3 separate regions of the Homo sapiens genome follow, and all the other regions are linked to region 3. Evidence: promoter capture Hi-C in 16 types of primary human blood cells and fetal thymus (Javierre and others, 2016). All regions are on one chromosome and are shown on one strand. The core of a region is centred on a gene start or on the middle of the fragment in contact, and the rest is flanking DNA. Distances in the headings are between cores, read along the strand shown.

What was found. Contacts are between HindIII fragments. The CHiCAGO score rates a contact against its expected background, and 5 or more counts as called.
Region 1: a contact is called between a fragment that was not itself captured here and the fragment with the promoter of KCNV2 in region 3, in 1 of 17 cell types (endothelial precursors). The highest score is 5.0, in endothelial precursors.
Region 2: a fragment that was not itself captured here is called in contact with the fragment with the promoter of KCNV2 in region 3 in 1 of 17 cell types (endothelial precursors); the score reaches 6.4 in endothelial precursors.

What each region holds. Positions count from the first base shown.
Region 1 is chr9:2,293,148-2,297,053 of GRCh38, reverse strand. It overlaps LOC105375955 (a long non-coding RNA gene), which reads right to left. Exons shown (of 4, transcript XR_929426.3): 4 at 151-455. Among named protein-coding and RNA genes, the nearest start is that of SMARCA2, 280 kb to the right of the region's middle. The HindIII fragment of the contact is 1,600 bases long and covers 1,277-2,876 here.
Region 2 is chr9:2,339,398-2,343,139 of GRCh38, reverse strand. No RefSeq gene overlaps it. Among named protein-coding and RNA genes, the nearest start is that of VLDLR, 280 kb to the left of the region's middle. The HindIII fragment of the contact is 4,203 bases long and covers 68-3,742 here.
Region 3 is chr9:2,714,849-2,718,759 of GRCh38, reverse strand. It overlaps KCNV2 (potassium voltage-gated channel modifier subfamily V member 2), which reads right to left and starts at 1,250. Exons shown (of 2, transcript NM_133497.4): 1 at 1-1,250. The coding sequence starts at 1,020. The HindIII fragment of the contact is 3,823 bases long and covers 1-3,159 here.

The sequences.
Region 1 (3,906 bases), core at 827-3,326, 420 kb after region 3:
TCTAAAGCTATACTTATACCCTACCTCCCCCTATCCCAGAGATCTCCCAAATTAGCATTAATTTCTTCTTTTCTAACACTCTATTGCACTTTCTTTCTACTACACTAGTTGCCTATGGCTGGATAGCAGACCATCCCAAACTGTAACCAGTTAAAACAACTGGCATTTTATTTTATCTAATGATTTTGGATCAGGAATTCGGAAAGGGCTCAGGTTGGCAATTTTTCTTCTTCACGTGATATAAACTGAAGTCACTAGGTGGAATTCATCTGGTGAATGAGTAAGTATGGTCTAAGACAGCTCACTCAATGTTTAACACATTGGTGGGAATGGAGTGTCTAGATGTTCTCTAGCATGTGTAGGTGGGTAGTCAGGCTTCTTTTCAGCAACTCAGAGACCCCAGATAGAGTTCCAGAAGACAAGAAGTAGAAGCTTCTTGGGTTGCAGTTTTCTGTCTGAAAATAAAACCTTTCATTAATGAGATGGTCTCCCAGATGGCTCCAGCCCCAAGAGTCTGATGCTTTAACTCCATCCCAGAGTGTGTGTACTCAGCCATTAATCCCTTCCTTACTTGGAAGGTAGGAGATTTCTAGGAATCTCAGACAAATCACAGTAGAATTGTTTAAGAGCTGTTTGTCTAAAGGACTAAGAGCTATGCACCAACATGGTAGAACAGGATTGCAAATGCATACTTCACTAAGCTGGCAAAAACAAAACAAAACAAAATACAAGCTTCTTTATAGTCTTTAACTGATCCAGTCTTCCTTATTAACTGCCAGTCTCCCTCCCAATCTTGCTAGATAGTAGGGAGATGGGGTGAGAATAAGGGCAGAATTTGGAAATTAATAGTATCTACATATTCAAATGCTTTTTTGGGAACAAACATTCATATAATTTTAACTTAAACTCTTTGAACAGAGCTGTTTACCCCCGTCTTCTTCCTGCTTTTCAAGATGGCTTCTGGGTGGAGGTGAAAGCTTGAGGGTATTTCTGATAACTGGGGGAGTGGAGACATAGGAAGGGGGTTGAGGTGGTGAGAGAAAGCTGGCCTGGGTACTGCCCCTCTCTGCCAACCTGGCATGGGGTGTCGATCTGATCTCAGGATTGGCATTTGCCAATTCTGACAATTTCACCTGGCCTCGTGGCATGAAGTTTATCATCTGATGCTCATGGCTGGCATTTGTTGTTGACTTTCCTGTCCTTGGTAGTTGCTTATTTCTGATGCCAGGCCCTTCTTGGCAGCTCTGTGAGTTCTCACCAGGCCATGAAGCAAGCTTCAGACCTTTTACCCAACACACCAAAGTTCAGCAGAGCCAAGAGAGCTTCCAGAGGCTCGCCCCTCAAGCCACTTTCCTCTACTGGTGCTGCCCCATATCCTTCTACCAGATTTTTCCTAGAGACCTGAAGTCCTCATAAGGCCTTGCTTGAAAAAAGGGCCACAGCATTACAAAACTCCAGGAATGGCCGTTCACAAAGAATACAATGTAACTGGTGCCCCTGCAGTTGCAAAGCACAGAGGTTCCAGTGAGGGTAGCAGGCCACCAACCTCAGTGTTGGATTCACTCAAGATTCTCCCAAGAAGCGAAACTGTGAACACATGTGTTTAACTCTTTGGCTGTTCCCTGGTTCCTATCTTCTTCTTCCCACAATTCCTCAACCCTAAAGATGCAAGATTTCTCCCTGCCTTTCCGGTGTAGCCAAGGCTTCCCTTACATTATATGCTAAGTTTTCTCTATCAAGGTTTATAGAAACTCTATGAGCCAGTCCACCAGCAATGATTCCTGACATGTTAATGGGAGCTCAAGGAATTTAGAAATTTATTTTTCTTCACCAAAGCCTGACTTTGAAGACTATTATCTTGCTAGTGACTCAAAAATCCTATTTGCTAGTCAAAGATGAGAAATAACTCCATTGCTAGAGTTGGCCTCCACCCTTTCCCTGAAGATCTTAAATCCATTGCTTCATGACTGGAAGGCCCCAGGGCAACCATCATTCTAGGAGATGGAACACTTCAGAAATTGTATGTTAAATTATTAGCCCTCATATGCATATATGTTACAAACATTGTTTTCATGTTTTATACAAATATTGACATTACAGGGCTCTCAGGGGTTAAGAAATAAGATGAAAGCTCTTTCTTATGCTGATAAAATATTCACTTCCTATTACCTTCTTCCCAGGTCCTTTCTTAACTGGGTATGAAACCTTTGCTCCTAAGGTGGTAACTGAGGGATGGATGAGATGATTTCAAACCAGAGAGTTGATAAAATGGGAGTACACAGGTGAGATTCACATGTGACAAAAACGCAAGGCTTGCAAATGTGGTGAGTGAATTCAGAGCAGATGCTTTCCCTGTTACCACTTGATGGAACCTCCTTAGGATGTAGAAGTGAATCCAAAATAGCAGCGATTCCATGCTCCAACTTCAGCTCCCATCCTAATCACAGGCTTCAGCCGAGTTGAGGCCATGTGCTCTGGCAAGGCTTTCTGTGTAACTTAAATCAAGTTTCGTCTCTGATTTATTAGGATTTTGTTAAATTGCTAATACCATTATTCTACCCTCATCCATTTCATCAGCAGCAGTTTAAACTCAGTCGCCTTGAATCAGTCACAAACAGTCCCAAAGGTTTATTTGGCCTTATATTTCTTAACACAATTTATAGCATTCAAATACTGAGTTAGATTTCAGGATGACATTTATCAAGCCTACTGTAATATGCCCTTGGCTTTTTTCTCTTCATCCCTTTCATCTATCTTGGCAGTAAAAGTGCTGCTGCTTTACCTCTGTTCCATATGATCAGGTTAAATCACTTTTTCTTTCCTAGGCCCCTATTTCAGCAGTGCCTTAGAGCTCATCTACATGAACCGCTTAAGCTTCTTTCCTTCCATAAAGCTTTGTAATAAACTTTCTTCTTCAAATACAGTTTCCCCCAGGACATACCCCAAATTTGGTCTTTTTCAAATGCAGGAATTGCTTACATTCCTGCATTTGATATCTTTCCCAAAGATGGGATATTATCTTTCCCAAAGAAAGAGGGATATCATCTTTCCCAAAGAACAGATTTGGTCTCATGGACCTCCAAGCATGTGTGTGTTCATGGGAACAAAGAGCTGAAATACTACAATCTAGTCTGAAAAAATCTCATTTAGAGGGCTCATTGTCTGAAGCGGATTACTCTCCAATAGCTAAGTTTCCAGGACTCCGGCCTAAGAGGCAGAATTCCCAGGATTAACAGAAATATAACTGCTCTGTCCTGAGCTCTCACAGACTCTAAGAGGTTGGAGTGGGATCAGCCAGTCCAACCCCACTTATTTCATAACTAGGGAATCTGAGATCTAAAGAAACTTCAACAAAGGAAGCTTATCATCCTAGTAAGTTGCCAGGCAAAGTCTCAGATGTGCCCTGTGAGTATTTTAGCGTTATTCATTCCCTGTGTTACAAAAACTCACATTGTACAAACTTCAAGAGAAAAAGAGCACAGGCTCTAAGAATGGGCAATTCCAAGTTTGCATTAAAACTCCAGCACCTACTGGATATTCAGGCAGAATGTATTTCTCACCTTTGAAATGGATTACAACACTGCTCCCTTGGAACATCATGGAGCACCCACATAGCACATGGGACATTTCAGAGCTTGGTAAATGGCAGCTAAACAGTAATTTTAAAGAGCCTGGGGCATGGACATCTGGGGGAAAAGGCTTAGGAGTTGGGAGGTAGGTGGAAACTGAGAACAAATAGAGAGATCAGTGAAAACCATGTGTGGGTTTGGCACAGTCTACCAATGCCTAGCTTAAGATTGCAGGACCAATTTGGAGGACTGATTATCTCAGCCAGCCAGTCAAGCCACTACAGCTCAGACAATTCAATTTTCTGGAGTTCTCTAGATCCTACCTCACGTCATTCAT
Region 2 (3,742 bases), core at 920-3,419, 380 kb after region 3:
GCCACTCTGTTAGTCCATTGCAGAATCCCTAGAAAAGACAAAAAAAAAAAAAAAAAAAAAAAAAGCTTATGGGTACCCATAGGATAAAACATTCTGACTACCTGGCTGTTGATAGATTTTTCTGCAGTTGATTTTTTTTTGGTAGGCATTAATACAAAATCCAAATATCTGTACAATTTGTGCCCATTCTCACAGACCCATCCACATACCTTTTTCCCAGACCTCCTAGTCAATGATTTTCTGGTCTTGTTAGTCTCCTCCTCAAGCACCCATTCACCACTGCTCTTGAGTCAGTGTATATCTATCCCTCAAGCTGCCTCTTCCTCCATATGAAATGATGGTAAGTCTACTGCACACAGCTCTGCCCTCTAGAGGGTTTCCCTTTACCCCTTTCCTTCACCATCAATTCAGGTCAAACCTGTGTGGCGCTGTAGTGTAGCAGCTGCCTATTTACAACTAGCACCAACATATTGCTCAGACTCATTAGTGAATTGGACTAGAACCCTTTAGACCTTCAATAGTCAATTGTGGAAAAAATCTCATTGGTCAAAGGTATGATGAGTGAGGGAGAGGCATCAATGTAACTTAAGTACTTAATACAGGGATCTGGGCCATCTGATTTTGTAATTTACTCATTCTTTCGGAGGTACTGGAATCTTGTCCCCAATAAACCCCTTTCATTATACAGTGATTTGCTGTTGTGCCTGCTCTACTACTTGGTTCAGTGGACCTGGTGATATCCAGACCATAAAGAGCACCTCCATTCATAGAGGCGCTTGGTGCTCCATGATGAGGTGTGCAGTCTCCAGTAGGAAACATTTAAATGCCAGGAGCTGTTTTGCAAACATCATAATTCTCTGCTGAAGAAGGCATGGCATTCTCCAGAACTCTATGGATCTGCCCACAGCTCATTTTTAATGGCATTGCAGAAACTCCATACGTTACCTCTATCTATCCAAACAATTAGCCACCACTGAAACTGCAGCTTTTGAGTCTAGAGCTGTTACAAAACCCTATTTTTGCCCTGGGCCTTGTTTGAAGTCTTCTGAGTCAACCCATGAATGGGTTGCAGAAAGATTCCCAAGTATACCATATGCTTCCTCCAAAATCCAGAATGAGATACAAGTGTTGTGCCTCATCACAAATGATAGAAAGTGAGAGGTACAATAACTTGTCTTTTACATTAGAATGAATGCCCTGGCACGTCCTTAACTACTGGACACCTGAAAACTTCCCTGATGGGGCAGACTCTTAAATCTCCTTTTTTTCCCGTCTCCCAAATTTGGGCATGCATATTTCTTACTAGGGCAGCTAGTGTAAGCTCCACTTCTAGTTCATCCAGTCCACTTAACGTGATATTATCAGTATAGTGGACCAATGTGATGTTCTGTAGAATGTCAAGATGATCAAGTTCTCTGGACTACATTATAGCCTTACAGCAATACAGTAAACATATACTGATATCCTTTTCATGTAATGACATGCTACTTTTCATTCTCCCTATTGTTGCATATCCAGAAGAAAGCATTCACTAAATCCATAGCAGTAGATTATGGACCAAAGGCTATGTTGAAATTCTCTACTGAATATACTACATCTGGCCTAAAAGTTGTGATTGTGACATTGCTTGGTTAAGTTAATGATACTCCCCTTCCCTAAGTATTCTGATGTGTTCCTTAACACGACACCAGGGAAATCTGGACATCTTTAACTTCATTTTTATAGAAGCCATCATCATGTTCAATATTCCACATCCTTTTCTACAGAATATTGAACAAGCTCCAGATATCCTTGCCAAAGCACTGAAGCTCAAATCATGGTGCATTCCCCATATCAATACATTCTTCTCTATCCAGTGTATATTCTATTCCCTCCGTCTCTCTCTCAGCCCAACATTCTCAGGATCCATTTTCATATCATGTGTTCTTCTGGAGCCTGTCCGTATATATCAGCCAGATCAAATAATTCTCTTAGTATGTAAACTATTCTTTTCCAAAAGCAGAGCTTGTACTTTTTCGCTTGGGCTGCGCTGACTCCTGACTCTGTTTATTGGCCTAGAAACCATGAGAGGTGATAGGGAAGATACTGACAAGAATAAGCATCATTGAATGGTATCCAGGCAAGTGGGCTGTTGGGCTTATAGAGAAAGCGCAGAAGAACTTGGGAGTTTAAAATTGTCAGGTTCACCCATGCAGATATCCTCATTCTATGTTTCAATCAAGGCCCTAATTTTCACACAAGAGGCCTGTGCACATTATATAAGCATACTTTGCAGGAACTGTGCTTTATAATTAGATCCTAGGCCTGATTTTCATCACAGTCTACCTTGAAATTTAAGAAGCTAAGAGTTTCTTTTAAAGACACTAAAGAGAGATTTTCACAGTGTGCAATTACAAGCCCTGGGACAAACACTTTCTTTTTGCAAGGAGTACAGTACAGTCACATTACTCCAAAATATATATAATTATCATTGTCCTCATACTGATGAAATGCCACAATTACTAGATCTCTCAATGCCTTGCTTTTCACATGCAGCTCACCTCAACCAGCTGCAAGTGAATGCCTAAGTACTTGCAACATCATTGCATACCAGGGGTTATTAACAATCCATTTACTACCAGCATTGCAGTCCTTATTAATTTCTGATCTGTGGGCAGTCAAACTCCAAATCTTACTGAGGGCCTGCTTTCCATAACCATTTCTGAAACAAACTGTTTTAGCCTAAGTTTCTTAGAAAACAAAGTCTGTACCAAAGATTATGTGCGAATATATTATTTGGAGCCCAGGGCAGTGAAAATAATGGAATACAGAGTTGAAACACAAGGATGGTAAGCAATAGAAGGTAATGTGTTACCACCTGGACAATAGTTCACAATGAGTCATGAAGAGATTTAGCCAATTACTCAGCAGCTTCACCTGCCCAATCATGCAGGAAACCTCCATACATGCTTTTCCTTGGAACAACCTATTGTAGGGAGGAAAGGAGAATTTATCTAATGGCTCCTTCCCATCTGCTACTCTTAAAACATTGCTACAAAGACTCGTTTCTGAGTTGTTTTTCTTAGTCTTTTCAGCAGGTGTCTGGGAAACTCTGCAGTGTGTACTTCATCAGAGTCTGGAAGTGACAATAGGAGCTGGACGCTCTGTGACTGGTTGTCCTCAGGCAGTGGAGCCAAACGGGCTAACAGGGAGACACCTCGCCACAAGAGTGGCTTAGGTCTAATAGACACTTATTACACCCCTAGGCATTGTGCATGGTCTTGGGAATACAATAGGAATATTTTCTGTGATCAAAAAACTTCATCTAGTGAAGATAACAAAAATAAACGCTTTGTAAAATACTTACTACTATAATATGGGTTTTAAAAAACGCTATGGCTTCCTAGAGGTAAACGAAAGTTCAGTCATGTCTAGAAATTTGGCAGATGTTCCTGACAACAATGACTTAAGATACCCTGAGAATGACCCTATGGTCTAAACATAATGTGCGTTGGGAGTTTCGAGCGGGGGAATCTGGGAGTGACCAACCTGCAGATTCATTCCTCATCTATGAGGAACATCTAAACCCCTGGCCCAAGCCATGGAATGCAGGCCATACAGGGAATCAAGGCCCTTTGTTTTGGGTTAAATGAAGGTTGCTAGGGGGAAGGTGCTAGGGGAAAGATGTTAAGCAAAAATGTTGTATGAACTGCATGATTTTTACAAATGGCAGTGGTTCTCCTGTCCAGCCTGCTGCCACTGG
Region 3 (3,911 bases), core at 1-2,500:
CAGGTCCACCAGGTTGAGGGCGCTGCGCGCGAAGCGCCTCAGGTCGGGCGTGGAGGCTAGGCGCAGCAGGTACTCGAGCGTGAAGAAGCCCATGCACAGCATCTCCACGTGCTCCAGGATGGGCCGCAGGTCTGGGCCGCCCTCGCCCTGCCCCGAGTGCTGCTGCATCTCCTCCACGGTGTTGAGCGCCAGCGCCACCACGGAGACGAGCACGAAGGTGCTGGAGGCCACCCCGATGGCCTTGGCGGCCACCGAGGAGAATGGCTTCTCCATGAGGTTCCAGAGGCGGCGCCGCTGCGGGCCGTAGAAGCGCATGTCGCGGAAGAGTTCCTCCGCCTCCTCGACCTGCGCCTGCGCGCGCAGCTCGTGCTGGATCTTGAGCCGTTCGCTCAGCTCGTCGCGCCGCTCCTCGAAGCAGATGCGGCAGCAGCGTGGCGTGTACTTGAGCCGCACGCCCCAGTAGCCCAGCTCCTCCAGGAAGCGGCGCGGACACAGCCCGTCGAGCACCAGCAGCACCCCGGACAGGTAGAAATTGTAGACCAGCTGGAAGACGGCCGGGTCGCGGTCGAAGAAGTATTCGTCTGTCTGCTCCTCGTAGTCGTCGCACAGGCTTAGCTGGCGGCTGCGGCTGGTGGAGGTGGCCAGGCGACCTAGGCGCGTCTTGGGGAAGCCGGCCAGCTCGCAGTAGTCCAGCTGGTAGCTGTGGCCACCCACGTTCACATTCAGCGTGGACAGCAGGGCCGGAGGGTCGCTGGGGCCCTCGGGCTTGGCGGTGGTGACCTCCCCTGCCTGCTGGTCCTCTTCTGCCAGGTCGTCCTTCCACTGGTCCTCCTCCTCGCCGTCTTCGTCTTCCTCGATGTAGTAGTTATAGTTGCCCTCTGTCCAGCCGTGGATGCTGGCCTGGGAGCCGGAACGGGCACCCAGGGAGCAAATGCTCCTGCGGTGTTGGCTGCCCTCATTCTCCGTCGTGTTCCAGGGCCTGTAGCTCCAGGACCGTCTCCTCTCACTCTGTTTGAGCATGGCTGCGGAAAGTGGACGCCTAGCTTTTTCCTCCTGGCTGTGGTAGGGGTCCCTCACCTGCTCACTGCCTCTAGGAGGATGGATCACGTGGCCTGCACTGTCTTAGAGAGGCCAGCCCGGACCAGCACAGCTAGGGGCTCAGACATTGCCACCGGAGCTGCCCCTTCTCAGGTCCTGGGCAGGCCAGCCCAGCCTGCAGGGTCTGAACGCAGTCAGCTGTTGACTGCTCTAATCTTGCTGATTTGGAAGAAGCAAGTGTTAGGAGGGATTTAGAACCTCTTAGCCCATTTCCTCCCCCACTCCCTTGACCCTGTGAGGTAGAGGATGATTATGTGGTCTTAAATCTCTAGGTAATCAGAAGAAGGCAGAGATTATTGCTAATAAAAATGTCGGTCAACCTCGCTCTTAGGAAGCGCTCAGTGTATGTGTGCTGAGATGAAATCAACTGAATTAGCTATAGAATACGGATGCCTGTGTCTTCAGCTTCATGGTTGAGATGGTAGCCTCTGCCCTAGGTAAACTCACCATTAGCAGGGATGACACATAGCAACGGAACAAAGCTGACTTCATGACAAGTCAGTTTCCCTCTCAGCGTAACTCTTCGTTTAGAGCATATAAGATCTAAAGCCATCTCCTTCTTGTCCATTCACATGATCACATTTTTTTTTTTTTTTCAAATGGATTCTCCCTGGGGCACTGTTCAGGTCCAGTCGGATCTTTGAGTCAGCTTCAGCTTCTCTCTCTCCTTTTTATCTCCTCCCTTTCTCTTAAAGGATAGAGACATGTTTCAAGGTAGAATTCCAGGAATGGTAGGAAGACGTTTTTAGGGCCTCACAACCCTGCTCAGCAATATTAGGCCATATTTAAAGGGAGCCTGACTTCCACCCAAAAAAAAAGGGTCTTCTTCATCCTTCAAAACATCACTTTAAAAAAAAAAAAAAAACCCTTTTCATGATTAAGGCAATGTGCAAATGCTGGATATGCAAACACGATGGAGACACAGTTGTAGCAGTCAAAGAACTCTTGGTTTTGTTGGGGATATAAACATGCAAGGATAACAAAAGATGCAATAAATACTGGGGAGGAGAGAAGCAGGAGGGATTTGCTTTGAGCAGGGAATTGGTTTTTCTATTCAATTTATTTTGCATAGCTAATACACATTCATGATAAAAAATTGTAAAGGTAAAAAGACATATTACAGTAGAAAGTTTATGTCTTTCCCACCCATAATTTCAAGACATCAGGTGTACCTCAAGGAAGCAACCACTATTACTACCTTTTGGCTATCCTTCCAGAAATATTCTAAACATATACAAGCAAAAATATACCTACCTTTATCCATCATCTCAGTACCTCTTCATTATTAATAGAAATCATAGAATGCTATATACTTTGCCTTTTCCAGTTGGCCATATAAAAGATGTTTTCATATTTGAACACAAATATCTACCTTATTTTAAAAATAGCCACTGAGCACTTTCCTAATGACAGACATTCAGAATGTTTCTACCTTTGCTTTTATGGACAATTATGCAACAAATACCTTATATGTACATCACTTTACACATGTTCAAGATATATAAAGGATAAATTCTTAGAGGTGAGATTACTAGGTCAAAGATTGCACATTTGTAATTTTGATTAGTAGTGCTACATTTCTCTCCATAAAAGTTTTACCAATTTACAATTCATCAACGGTTGAAAATGTCTTATACTTTTTTAACTCTACCAATTTTGTAAGTGAAAAATGATGTGTGGGTTAATTTGTATTTCTTATAAATGTGATTGAACACTTTTTCATGTGATTAAAAGCTATTTCTTTTTCTGGGAACTGTCTGTTCATCGACTTTGCCTATATTTTCCACTGAGTTGTTTACATTTTTCTTATTGATTTGTAGGAGAGCTTAATACATTATGAAAAAAGACCCTTTACTTGTGATATGGATTGCACCTTTTTTCGGTTTTAACTTTAATATTTTTTCCATGTAAAAATCTTTATTTTATGATTTCTGGGTGTTGTGTAGTATTAGAAAAGGCTTCACCTCTCTGTAAATAAAACTTTTCTTTTTATAGTTTTAACATCAGAAATTAATTTTGATGTAAAGAGTGAAGTAGGGGCCTAACTTTATTTTCCAAGCTTTTATCCAGATGTTTCAACACATTAATTGCATAATCCATCATTTCCTCACTGATTTGTGGTACTATCTTTGTCACTTAGTTGAGTTTTAACTATGCTTCAAAGTTGTTGAGACGGGTAACGTTATGAGGTCTGCATCTGCTAGTGTGGCATTCACTGATGTTGTTTAGCTTGCAATAGGCCTCAGACCTACAAGCTTATGGTAAAGCTTCTTACCAGGCTTAGCCTTTAAGTTCCTAAATGTATTTCTAGCGTTCCCTTTTTGGTATACAATATTGATGTTGTTTTGCTAGCCACACACTTAATTGCTTTCCAAGTCTATCTTTTCTTTATATTGTGCTGAGTACTGCCATAATAGATTTTGCATGTTGCATAAATTCACCTTTTCTCTTCAGAACCAATTATACTATTATAAAAAGTAAAGACTGGGTGTGGTGGCTCACGCCTGTAATCCTAGCACTTTGGGAGGCCGAGGTAGGTGGATCACTCGAGGTAAGGAGTTTGAGACCAGCCTGGCCAACTTGGTGAAACCCCATCTCTACTAAAAATACAAAAATTAGCCGGGCTGGGCATGTTGGCGGGTGCCTGTAATCCCAGTTACTCAGGAGGCTGACACACAAGAATTGTTTGAACCCGGGAGACAGAAGTTGCAGTGAGCTGAGATCATGCTGCTATACTCCAGCCTGGGTGACAGAGTGAGACTTGGTCTCGACAAAAAAAAAAAAAGTAAAAATATCACCATTTTCATATTTTT